3 separate regions of the Homo sapiens genome follow, and regions 2 and 3 are each linked to region 1. Evidence: promoter capture Hi-C in 16 types of primary human blood cells and fetal thymus (Javierre and others, 2016). All regions are on one chromosome and are shown on one strand. The core of a region is centred on a gene start or on the middle of the fragment in contact, and the rest is flanking DNA. Distances in the headings are between cores, read along the strand shown.

Region 1 (4,379 bases), core at 1,847-4,346:
TGAAGAGGGATGAGAGATAGGGAAGGTGACCAGGATAAGGAGAGATGTGGTCAATCATATCAGGAGCTTCCCACCCCAGAAGTTGTTCAAATTTAGGTACTGGCAAGAGTATTGAGAGGCCTCAAGGATCACATGGAAGTTAAGGTCACAAAAAGGTTAAAAGTCCCTTCAAGCTCCATGGTCCTGTAAGTCCAGGAATAGTAGAAGGATCTAAAGAGAAGAGCCTTGGAGAGAGGGGGCAAGAGACGGTATGAGAGCTGATACACAGAGGAGAGAGTACTAGTCTTTCTTCACCCAGCCACAGACTTGGCCACTTGGGAAAGTCACTCACGGATCCTCTCTTTCCTCTCTCTCACGTGTAAATACACAAGATGCCATCAGGGGCCTAGAGAATTTTGTGGAATAGGCCAAGTCCATTTCATTTTATCTTCCTACCCAAGGTCCTTTCAAAGACAGGGAGCCTAACTTCTCCTGGATTTCAACAAGCAGACATCTTTCAGAAAACAATATAGACTAATGCTTCCCCTTCAGTGGAAGGGAATTTAAGAATTAGGCCATAAAAAGGAACGAAGTACTGATATAAGCTACAGTGGGATGAACTTTGAAAATATTATGCTGTACAAAGGAAGCCAGTCACCAAAGACCACATACTATGTGATTCCATTCATATACAAGCCCAGAGTAGAGAAATCTATAGAGGCAAAGTAGATCTTAGGGCTGGGAGAGGAGAGGAGAATAAAAGGTTGATACCTAAAGCATACAAGGTTTCTTTCTGAGGTGATGAAAATGTCCCAAAATTGACTGTGGTGATGGCTACACATATCTGTAAAGATACTAAAAACCACTGAATTGTATGCTTTAAATGGATGAATTGTATGGCATGTGAATTATATCACAATAAAGCTGCTTTTAAAAGAAAAGAAGAACATACAGAAGGGTGGCTGGATGACTCCAAAGCCCACAGCACCTTGGCGAGCGGCATTGCTCTCACCACTGTGATCTTCCCCCATGGGTCCTTGTACTTCCAAACCTCAGGGAACCCGAGGGACTCCAGAGACCCAACTCTCAATTACAGCACCTGGAGTGGTGTCTCGCCACAGAAGACGCAGACAGCAAGACAGTTTGACAGCTCTAACCATTACAAACACCTGCAGAAGCTGCTACAGAGCCCATAAATAGCCCCAGGTTTGCCCACCGGACTAGGGTCCCCCTCTGAACTGGAGCTCGCCTTCCTAGCTCCTTCGGCTGTGTCCACTGGAGAGAGGTACACAGGACGCTGGAAAAGAGGAAAAGAGAGGCCATTTTCTCAGACTCTTCCACCCAAAGGCCCTCCCAGTTTGCGGTTTCCTGGACTCAGCAGCCCAGGGCCTGTTCCTGACCATGGAAGGAGGAGGCGGCTTCACTGGTTTATTATCTGGCCTCATCTCCCTCTCCCCCACAGCCCACCTACTCCAGCCACTCTGGCCTACTCCCTTTCCTTTAACGCACCACATACACTCATTGCTTGGAGCACTCTTCCCCAAAGAGCCTCCTCCCCCTGGAAATCTTGGCTCAAATGTGCCTTTCTCCACCCTGGCCACCTCATTTGAAAATCCTAACCCCAGTCTCCCTCACCCTTCTTTATCGTTTTCCCATAACACATGTCATACCAGAGATTTTCCTTATTAAGTGTATATTACCTGCTATTACTAGGCCTCCTTATTCACAACACAGCTTCTTTTAGCCTCCAGAGCCCAGCTGGAGAGCCAGGAGGCTGTGATTAACTACCTTCCCATCCCCTTTAATGAGCCTGTAGTACATGGAACAATCACTCCTGGCCTTTTCTACCTCTGCTTCCGAAGCACCCTTACCAGACCCTCAGAGGATCTGGGGAGAGCTGGCTCTTCATTCCAGTGTTTGCTCACCTCCTGTAAGAACAGTGCCTTCTCCTGGCCACCTAGATTTTCTTTTTCAAGGGGCACCTGCAACCTGTTTTCACAGGTTATCCCTACTAAAACATCATAAAGTGGGCTGGGAAAATACAAGTAAACCCATTTGTAAACACTGTAACTCTACCTCCTCTCATCTAGTAATTCCTTGTTTACTTATTGCTTTCCTCTACAGGACCATAAACTCCTGGAGAGCAGAGACTAGGTGTTTCCTGCCCACCATGGAGAACATATTAGGTGCACAGTATCCATTGGAGTGCAATAGTAAGGACTCATTAATTGTCTCCGTTATCATCATTATGTGGCTTGTCCTGGATCTCCGTCAGTGAGCGACTTGCCAAGTGTGTACACCCATGAACCAGAAGGCAACCCAAGACCAGCCAGAAAAGACGCTTGGCACCCTTTGATGAGTACATTTACCCAGTGACCGCCAACTCTCCCCATTCCCCAAAGTTCTGCAAAGGACGCAGGAAAAGTAAAGTTCAAGGAATAGTGTTCCTAGATCCCTAGCAAAGTTCTAGACCCAAAACACAAAGCCTGGGAGGGGTGGAGGAACGGGGCTTGGGGAACTGTCCCAAGGGCCTCCCCGGCTGATCTCTCCGCACCACCTAGGACTGCCTGAGCGCCCCCTGTGGGTCCACGGAGCCCAGGAGACGCGTTTGGCCCTGTAGACCATCCACATCGCCCGCCCTCCGCTTCTCTCAACTCGCCTCTCGCTTCAGAGTCGGAGGGACAGGGGAAGCGACGCTCAGACACTCCTAGGGCCAGAGGTGGAGGGAGCGAAGGAGACCCTGAAGAAGTGGGAGGGGGTCGGGCCAGGCAGGGGCTGAAGAGAATCGCGCCACAGGCTGGGACGGGAAACGTGGGAAAGTTGGAGTGGGAAGTTTGCGACAGGGAACATAGAAAAGAGCAGAAAGAGGGCAAGATCCCCGCACAGAGGACGCAAACAGAAGCAAGCGGGGGAGCGCGCCTCAAGGGATGCGGGGTACGAGAGAGGGGCCGGGAGCCCGGGGACCCGCGGCGCCTGCCTACCCACCTGAGGCTGCCATGCCGCGGGGCGCCGCTCACATCCCTGGCTCGCTGCGTGCCCGGGGCCGGGACCGGGGCCGGCGGCGTCCTGGCTCGGGCTGGAGGGGCGCCGGGCTCCGCGCGGGACCGGCCGCCGCTCTGGCGCTTCCTCCCTCAGGGCAGCCCGGCCTCGCCACGAGGGCGTGTCCACAGAGTCCGCCCCGCCTGCGGGACTCGGCCCGCGGCACCTGCACCCGCGGCCGTTGGGGAGGGGAAGTGAGAACCCCATGCCGGCCGCCGGCCAGCTCCCCCCACGGCCCCCTGCTCAGGGGCAGCGAGAAGGCGGGGGCTTCGCGCCACGTGCGCCCCACTCCTCGGGAAACCAGCCCTGATCTGCCACCAAAGGGCAGCCCGAGGTGGAGGGGGTGTGGGGAGGAGGCGGAGGGGGAGAGTGTGGGGCTGCCAGGCCTCTGGGAGACAGGGCGGGGGTGTGTGTGTGTGTGAGCACCAGCTGTCCAAGCCACCTCCTCATCGCCTGGGGCTTTGTCCCTAAGCCCCTGCTGCCCCAGCAGGAAAGGGGAGGGGACAGGAAGGGGAAGAGGAGGAGGGCTGGGCACCTGGCCCTGGGTGCTCGGCGTTGCCCTTGAGTGCCCTCCTGTGATCTTTCTGCCGTTCCTTGGATCTGGTCTCCTGATGGCACATGAACATTAATTATAATGTCACATGATAAATGTCTAATAGAGTTTCTCTGCCATTCATTTCCTGTGTTCCTGTCTGCTGGGCGCTGCGTTTAGCACCTTACACACATTATCGCATTGCATCCTCACAGCAACCTTCTGAGGTAGCACCTATCACTGTCTTTACATTGGAGCCAAAGAAACAAGCCAAATACCTTGCTCAGGCTTCCACAGAGAACAAAAGCTCCCGGAGGTTCAGTACCAAGCCAGTCTGCTTCCAGAGCTAGAACTCTTGCTTAACCCTTGCCTTCACCTGCCCTCTTCTTGGACTCCTCCCTTTGCCTGCTGCCGAAATTCAACTGAATAGCACATCCCCTTGGAGTTCTCAACAATCCAGGGGCCAGAAGATGGACCCAGAGAGCAGAGATGAGGCAAGGTTAGGGCTGAAGTCCAGGTGGAAATAAAATGAAATGGATTTAAGAACGGGAATATCAGGATGAGGCCGTGCATTCATTTTCTTCTGTTGCCATAATAAATTACTACAAATTTAGTGGCTTAAAACAACACCAACTTATCATTTTACAGTTCTGTAGCTCAGAAGTGTGACATGAGTCTCCATCGGCTAAAATCAAGGTGGTGGCTGGGCTGGGTTTCTTTCTGCCAAATAGAAGGGAATCAATTTCCTTGGCTCTTTCAGCTTCTAGAAGCCATCCACATTCCTTGGCTCATGGCCTCCTTGTTCTATCTTCAAAGCCAGATGGCCCTG
Region 2 (4,179 bases), core at 587-3,086, 41 kb before region 1:
TCCGGTTTAGAATCACAAGCGTGAGGACAAAACATGGTTTTCACTGTTCATTTAGGTACAGTTATAGAAACCACTGGAAACCTAATCAACATTGGGATCAGGATCAAGAAGAATCTGTCCCAGGGGTTCTCATCACCTCAGAGGGAGGTGAGAGTTTTTGCAAAGGTCTTGCCAGAATGATGAATTAGAATAGAGAAATTGTGTAGCTTTTAGAAGCATAGCCAATATTATATTACAATTTTATTTATTTATTTATTTTTAGAGACAAAGTCTTGCTTGCTCTATTGCCAAAACTGGAGTGTAGTGGTGTGATCATGGCTCACTGCAGCCTCGACCTCCTGGGCTCAAATGATCCTCCTACCTCAGCCTCCCGAGTAGTTAGGACTACAGGCATATGCCACCACATCCAGCTAATTTAAATTAAAAAAAATTGTAGGCTGGGCACAGTGGTTCATGCCTGTAATCCCAGCACTTTGGGAGGCCGAAGTGGGCAGATCATCTGAGGTCAGGAGTTCGAGACCAGCCTGGCCAACATGATGAAACCCCGTCTCTACTAAAAATACAAAAAATTAGCTAGGCGTGGTGGCACACACCTGTAGTTCCAGCTACTAGGGAGGCTGAGGCAAGAGAATCGCTTGAACCCAGGAGGCGGAGGTTGCAATGAGTCGAGATCACACCACTGCACTCCAGCCTGGGTGACAGAGTGAGATCCTGTCTCAAAAAAAATTTTTTTTGTAAAGGCAGGGTTTATCCATGTTTCCCAGGTTGGTCTCGAACTCCTGGGCTCCATGGATCCTCCCACCTTGATCTCCCAATGTGCTGGGATTATAGGCTTGAACCACTGTACCTGGCCTATACTATAATTAAAATTTTAAACTATTATTTTAATAAATGCACTATAGAAGGAGGGTGTGAGTCAAAAGGGAGCATGGGTTAAAACAGGTAGAAAATTCCTTCCTTGGGATCTTGCAACCTATGACCCACCTCTCCACCACTCCTCTGAGCCTCTGTGCCCACTGCCTCAACACCTTCCTCCTTTTCACTTTTCCTTTTCATGATATTGTAGTCCTTTGTATGTAGTGTTTTGCCAACCCTGCAGTCACAATATAGTTTATTTCCTCTTTGTTCAGGTTCAACAACCTTCCAAAAGTAGAGACACAGACCCCTGTAGGGGAAGAGGAGAGCGACCCACTAATACCAAGTAGGCAAGGAGCACCTGGAAGGTTCTCATACACAAAAACCTCCCCCACCTCCACATTCAACTAATAAAAGCTTCATCTGAGTTATCACACTGAGGATGATGCAAATGCTCTGGGGAAGGTTCAGCTTCACAGACAGTCACACTTTAGTAAGAATTATTTTTGAATCTTAGATGATCAGAATTTGAAAGAACCTGAAGAATCATTTAGTGCAAATTACACTCAAGGATTTTTTTTTATCATGGTCAACCTCTACTTGAATATTACAGAGACAAGAGCTCCCTTCTTGAGTCTACTCCACTGATGTGCATTTTGAATTATTAATATCTGGGCTGGGTGCAGTGGCTCCTGTCTAAAATCCCAGCACTTTGGGAGGCCAAGGTGGCTGGATCTTTTGAGGTCAAGAGTTTGAGACCAGCCTGGCCAACATGGTGAAACCCCGCCTCTACTAAAAATACAAAAATTAGCCAGGTGTGGTGGTGGGTGCTTATAGTCCCAGCTACTCAGGAGGCTGAGGCAGGAGAATCTCTTGGACCTGGGAGGCGGAAGTTGCAGTAAGCCGAGATCTCGCTGCTGCACTCCAGCCTGGGCGACAGAGCAAGACTCCGTCTCAAAAAAAAAAAAAATTATTAATATCTGTGAAAGCTCATCCTTATCTTTAGTCCAACCTTGCAGAATCTGTTAAGATAGTTCTGCTGCAAGCAAGAGAAATCCCAACTCAAAATGCCTTAAACATTAAGGACATTTATCTCCTGGAATCCAAAGCCCAGCATTCAGGCAGGTTTGGGGTTGGTAAGTGTTCAGCCACAGCACCAAGGTCCCAGGTTCTTCCCATTTCTCTATTCTACCATCTTCAGCACAAATTCTCAAGCTGGTGGCAAGACGGCTGTGGTAGCCACAGGTTCACTTCACAACAAGGTCCAGAGGAAAAGAGAAAAATATTCCCACGAGCATGGAACAGAAACTCTTCCCTTCATTCTGACTGCTCCAACTTAGTTCACATGACCAGTCACTGTCCCCAGGGGAGTGCCATGCAATCCCCAACCTTGTAATCACCCAGGGTGGAAAGAGTGATGGGACTCCCACTATCATGTCCACCCTTCCTTCCTCTCAGCAACCTCCACCTCAAATAGAGATCTCCCTTACCTTGCAACTCAGAACACAGCCTCAGCCCTTTCCAAAAAATGGTGCATAAATGGTTCCAAGCTTCTTGGTTGTTCTTCTCTGGACATATTCTAGTCAGCCAGTTTCCTTCTAAAAAGGTGGCACCCAGAATGGAACACCATTCTTGGTAGAACATACTGAAATTATTCTAGGACAAAGGAGCCATTCTCTTATTAAGGTAGCTTAATACTGTGGTAGCTTTTAGCGGCCACATCATACTATTGATTTTTTTTTTTTAACTTTTAAGTTCAGGGGTACATGTGCAGGTTTGTTATATAAGTAAATGGATGTCATGAGGGTTTGTTGTACAGATTATTTTGTCATCCAGGTACTAAGCCTAGTATCCAATAGTTATTTTTTCTGATCCTCTCCCTCCTCCCACCCTCCACCCTCAGGAATGCCCTGGTGTCTGTTTCTCCCCTCTATGTATCCATGTGTTCTCATCATTTAGTTCTCAGTTGTAAGTGAAAACATGTAGTATTTGGTTTTCTGTTCCTCTGTTAGTTTGCTAAGGATAATGGCCACCAGCTCCATCCATGTTCCTGCAAAGGACATGATCTCATTCTTTTTTATGGCTGCATAATATTCCACAGTGTATATGTACCACATTTTCTTTATCCAGTCTACCATTAGTGGGCATTTAGGTTGAGTCTACGTCTTTGGTATTCATACTATTGATTGCTTTTTAACAGGTAGTCAACTATAAATCCTGCAATTCACTTTCACATGTTGATGCCATGTTGGATTTCTGCTGTGCTGCACTAGTTCAATTGCATTTATGGACCTAAAAGCAGAACTCAGGATTATCATATTGAACTAGATCAAGACAATGTTGAATAATGCTTCAGTCACTCAGTGTAAAATCTACCCAGTCACCTACGAGTGTTATCCATCAATAAATCTGTATTCATTTGCTAGGGCTGCCATAACAAAACACCATAGACTGTGTGGCTTAAACAATAGAAATTTACTTTCCCACAATTCTAGAGGCCACAAGTCCAAGATCAAGGTGTCAGCAGGGTTGTTTTTTTCTCGGGCCTCCCTGCTTGGTTGCAGATGGCTGGCTTCTCACTCTGTCCTCCATAATTTCTCTTCCGTGTGTGCACACATCTGTGTCCTAATCCCCTCTCCTTCTAAAGACACCAGTCATATTGGATAAGGGCCCATCTATATGACCTCATTTTACCTTAATTACCTTTTTAAAAACTCTATCTCCAAATCCAGTCGGGTTCTGAGGTACGAAAGGTTAGGACTTCCAAATATGAATATAAGGTAGACACAATTCATCCCATAACAAATGTGATGTCTGACTTCTGTGTATGCCTCAAAGTCAGAGAATAACTGGCCACGAAACCTAAACCAGGGCTGCTGGCTCTCCTCTAGACACTCCCTCAAGGACGACCATTAATCCAATTATTCTCTCATATTATGCTGAGATCAGTCTCTTTGGAGAGCAGATTTCAGCTAGGTTTGGGAGAGTGTTGAAGAGAAAGATCATTCTGGAAACTTGGGCCCAAAAGGGGGCTCTAGTAGGATGTTTCCACAGTCAAAGTAGGTGACTCTGGACATGAAGGCACCGAACCGGAGGCTGCTGTGCAGAAGATGAGTCATAATGGAGAAGGGTAAGGGAAGAAGAGCTGGAAGGTTATCAGAAGGCAAATTTGGTGACTTCCCAATTTTACTTAGGACATGGGTAGCAGCAACTGCATCTGGAACACTTTTAAAATTATCCTGAGTGCCTGTATCACAGAGTGACTATGCCTGTATGCAATTACCCACGAGGGCAGTGATGACCACATTTTGCTCAGGGACTTAA
Region 3 (4,023 bases), core at 1,124-3,623, 58 kb before region 1:
AGAGATGGTCCAGAATTAAGGCTTCATTCCCATAAAAACTTAATATGGGATTTTAAAAAGCATTAAAAACCAGTACAGATCTGTTCTGCGAAAGACATTGTCAAAAGAATGCAGAGATAAGCGATCGTCTGGGAGAAAATATTGCAAAAGACATATCTAATAAAATACTTGTACCCAAAATATACAAAGAACTCTTAAAACTCAACAAGCAGAAAACGAAAAGCCTGATTTTAAAAAAGAGCAAAAGACCTGAACAGACACTTCACCAAATAAGACACATGGATGGCAAAGAAGCCATCTGTATATCTTGAAAAGATGGTCCACATCATATGTCATCAGGGAAACGCAAATTAAAACAGCCATGAAATAGCACTACAAATCTATGAGAATGGGCAGAAGCGAGAACACTGACAACACCAAATGCTGGTCAGGAAGTGGAGCAACAAGAACTTGCATCCTTTCCCGAGGTTCTTCTCCTTTTCTGGTAGGAATGCATCCTTTGCTGGCAGGAATGCAAAATGGTACAGCCACTTTGGAAGACAGACTTACAAAACTAAACACAAGCTTACTAAACAATCCAGCAATCATGCTCCTCAGTATTTACCAAAAAGAATTGAAAACTTACAGTCACACAAAAACCTGCACACAAATGTTTATAGCAGCTTTGTTCAAAACAGCCAAAACTTGGAAGTGACCAAGATGTCCTTCAGTAGGTGAATGGATAAAGTGCGGTACACCCAGACAATACAATACTATTCTGCACCAAAAAGAAATGAGCAGGCAAGCCCTGAAATGCCATGGAGAAAACCTGAATGCATATTACTAAGTGAAAGAAGTCACTCTGAGTCAGGCATGGTGGCTCACCCCTGTAATCCCAGCACTTTGGGAGGCCAAGGTAGTTGGATCACCTGAGGTCAGGAGTTCGAGACCAGCCTGGCCAACATGGTGAAACCCTGTTTCTACTGAAAATACAAAAATTAGCCAGCCATGAGGCCGAGAGGCTAATACAAAAATTAGCCTCTCATGAGGCTGAGGCAGGAGAATCACTTGAACCTGGGAGGTGAAGGTTGCAGTGAGCTGAGATTGCGCCACTGCACTTCAGCCTGGGAAACGAGCAAAACTCCATCTAAAAAAAAAAAAGCCAATCTGAAAACACACTGTAGGATTCCAACTATATGACATTCTGGAAAAGGCAGAACTATGGATCACTGATTGCCAGTGGTTAGGAGGAAAGAAAGAATGAATAGGCAGAGCACAGAGGCTTTTTAGGGCAATGAAACTACTCTGTATGATACTATACTGGTGGGTGCATGTTATTAGACATTTGTCCACACCAATAGAGTATACAACAGTAGGTGAATCCTAATATAAACTCTGGCCTTCGGGTGAGTGATAATGATGCATCAATGTAGATTCATCAGTGGTAACAAATGTGCCACTCTGGTGCTGGATGTTGATGGGGGTGGGAGGAGGCTGTGTGTACATAGGGGCAGAGCAGACATGGAACTTTGCATGCTTTCCACTTAATTTTGCTATGAACCTAAAACTGCTCTAAAATATAAAATCTACTCAAAAATATTAGCCAGGCATGGTGGCATGTGCCTGCAGTCCCAGCTACTTGGGAGGCTGAGGTGGGAGGGTCGCTTGAGTCCAGGAAGTGGAGGTTGCAGATTGTGCCACTGCACTCCAGCCTGGGAGACAGAGCGAGACACTGAGAAAAGGAAAGGACAGGATAGGACAGGACAGGACAGGACAGGACAGGACAGGACAGGAAAGGAAAGGGAAAAGGGAAAGGGAAAGGAAAGGGAAAGGAGAGGGGAAAGTGAGGGGTACTATTTAGATTCTTCCTAATTCTTATAACTCCAAAATAAAATTTAGATGGATTAGAGATTAAAATGCAAAATAAATAAACAAATTTTAAAAATTAAAAAGAAAATACATGTGAACATTTTATCAGTGGTTTGGGAAAATATTTGTTAAACAAACAAAAATCACAATCTAAATGAGCAAGACTTGATAATATAAATTTAAAACTTTAGTAAACAAACAAAAAACTAAAATCAAAATGCTGTAGCAGCATCATTCCTAATAGTCAAAAGGTGGAAACAGCCCAAATGTCCATCAACTGATGAATGGATAAACAAAATGAGGTATGTCCATATAATGGAACATTACTCAGCAATAAAGAGAAATAAATTTCAAAACAATATGTTGTTTTATATAAATAGAGACACATTTTCTTATTATAATAGATAAATAAGGCCGGGCGCAGTGGCTCACACCTGTAATCCCTGCACTTTTGGGAGGCCAAGGCGGGTGGATCACCTGAGGTCAGGAGCTCGAGATCAGCCTGGCCAACATGGTGAAACCCTATCTCTACTAAAAATACAAAAAATTAGCCAGGCATGGTGGTGGGCGCCTGTATTCTCAACTACTCAAGAGGCTGAGGCAGGAGAATTGCTTGAACCCAGGAGGCAGAGATTGCAGTGAGCCAAGATCGCGCCACTGCACTCCAGCCTGGGCAACAAGAGGGAAACTCCGGCCGGGCGCGGTGGCTCACGCCTGTAATCCCAGCACTTTGGGAGGCCGAGGCGGGTGGATCATGAGGTCAGGAGATCGAGACCATCCTGGCTAACAAGGTGAAACCCCGTCTCTACTAAAAATACAAAAAAAATTAGCCGGGCGCGGTGGCGGGCGCCTGTAGTCCCAGCTACTCGGGAGGCTGAGGCAGGAGAATGGCGTGAACCGGGGAAGCGGAGCTTGCAGTGAGCCGAGATTGCGCCACTGCAGTCCGCAGTCCCGCCTGGGCGACAGAGCGAGACTCCGTCTCAAAAAAAAAAAAAAAAAAAAAAAAAAAAAGAGGGAAACTCCATCTCAATAAATAAGTAAATTAAATAGATAAATAAAAATGAATGATGTACTGATAAATGCTACAGCATGCATGAATCTTGAAAACATTATGCTAAGTGAAAGAAGATAGTCATAAAAGACCACAAATTATATGATTCCAAATATATGTCCAGGACAGGCAAATCTATAGAGACAGAAAGTAGATTAGTGGTTGCTTTGGGCTGGGGAGATTGGCAGGATTGTGGGACAATAGCTAAGAGGTATGAAATTTCTTTCTGAGGTGATGAAAATATTCTAAAATTGATTGAAAATACTCTAAAATGGATTATGGTGAATATTGCACAAATCTGTGAATATACGAAAAAAACATTGAATTGTACACTTTAAATGGATAAATTGATGGTATGTGAATTATACCTCAACAAAGAAACCAATGGCAGGCTGGGCGCGGTGGCTCATACCTGTAATCCCAACACTTTGGTAGGTTGAGGCAGGTGGATCACCTGAGGTCAGGAGTTCAAGACCAGCCTGGCCAACATGGTGAAACTCCGTCTCTACTAAAAATGCAAAAATTAGCCGGGCATGGTGGTATACGCCTGTAATCCCAGCTTCTCAGGAGGCTGAGGCAGGAGAATCACTTGAACCCAGGAGGCAGAAGTTGCAGTGAGTCGAGATCGCACCACTGTACTCCAGCCTGGGCAACAGAGTGAGACTCCGTCAAAAAAAAAAAAAAAAAAAAAAAAAAAGAAACCCATTGGCAAATCACAAACAGTTTAAAAATTTGAAGTAAAAATGATAAGGGGCTAATCTTCTTAATATACGAAGATGTCACGAAATCTCTTTTAAAATACCCCAAGACCAATAAGAAGACAATTCATAAAAGAAGGAATACAAATTACCTCCCCATTCAAACAAATATCATTCATTCTCACTAGTCATCATGAGAATGCAAATGAAAATACAATGCTGTCTTGCTATTTTAGCTTTTCAAATTAGAAAATGCTGTGAAGTACACCCAATAAACTTTAAACTTTAAACAGTGCAGGGTTTAAAGGTGACTGGAGGACAGATACCCCCCAGCTGCTGAGGGAAGTACAAACTGCACAATCTTTCTGGAAAGCCATGTGTCCACACCCAGAGAAAGAGAAGGCCTTGAAAATGTTCACAGCTTTT

The links. The method cuts DNA at HindIII sites, captures the fragments that hold promoters and counts their contacts. A CHiCAGO score of 5 or more calls a contact.
Region 2: a contact is called between a fragment that was not itself captured here and the fragment with the promoter of PIK3AP1 in region 1, in 6 of 17 cell types (total B cells, monocytes, naive B cells and 3 more). The highest score is 9.5, in total B cells.
Region 3: a fragment that was not itself captured here is called in contact with the fragment with the promoter of PIK3AP1 in region 1 in 9 of 17 cell types (monocytes, total B cells, erythroblasts and 6 more); the score reaches 9.8 in monocytes.

Annotation. Positions count from the first base shown.
Region 1 is chr10:96,717,418-96,721,796 of GRCh38, forward strand. It overlaps PIK3AP1 (phosphoinositide-3-kinase adaptor protein 1), which reads right to left and starts at 3,097. Exons shown (of 17, transcript NM_152309.3): 1 at 2,965-3,097. The coding sequence starts at 2,977. RefSeq lists enhancers at 2,619-2,728, 3,579-3,688 and silencers at 2,859-3,108, 3,159-3,458. The HindIII fragment of the contact is 16,174 bases long and covers 1-4,379 here.
Region 2 is chr10:96,677,717-96,681,895 of GRCh38, forward strand. All of the region lies in intron 2 of PIK3AP1 (phosphoinositide-3-kinase adaptor protein 1), which reads right to left. Among named protein-coding and RNA genes, the nearest start is that of PIK3AP1, 41 kb to the right of the region's middle. RefSeq lists an enhancer at 1,061-1,320. The HindIII fragment of the contact is 1,133 bases long and covers 1,271-2,403 here.
Region 3 is chr10:96,660,059-96,664,081 of GRCh38, forward strand. The region is part of intron 2 of PIK3AP1 (phosphoinositide-3-kinase adaptor protein 1); the gene reads right to left. Among named protein-coding and RNA genes, the nearest start is that of PIK3AP1, 58 kb to the right of the region's middle. The HindIII fragment of the contact is 3,622 bases long and covers 563-4,023 here.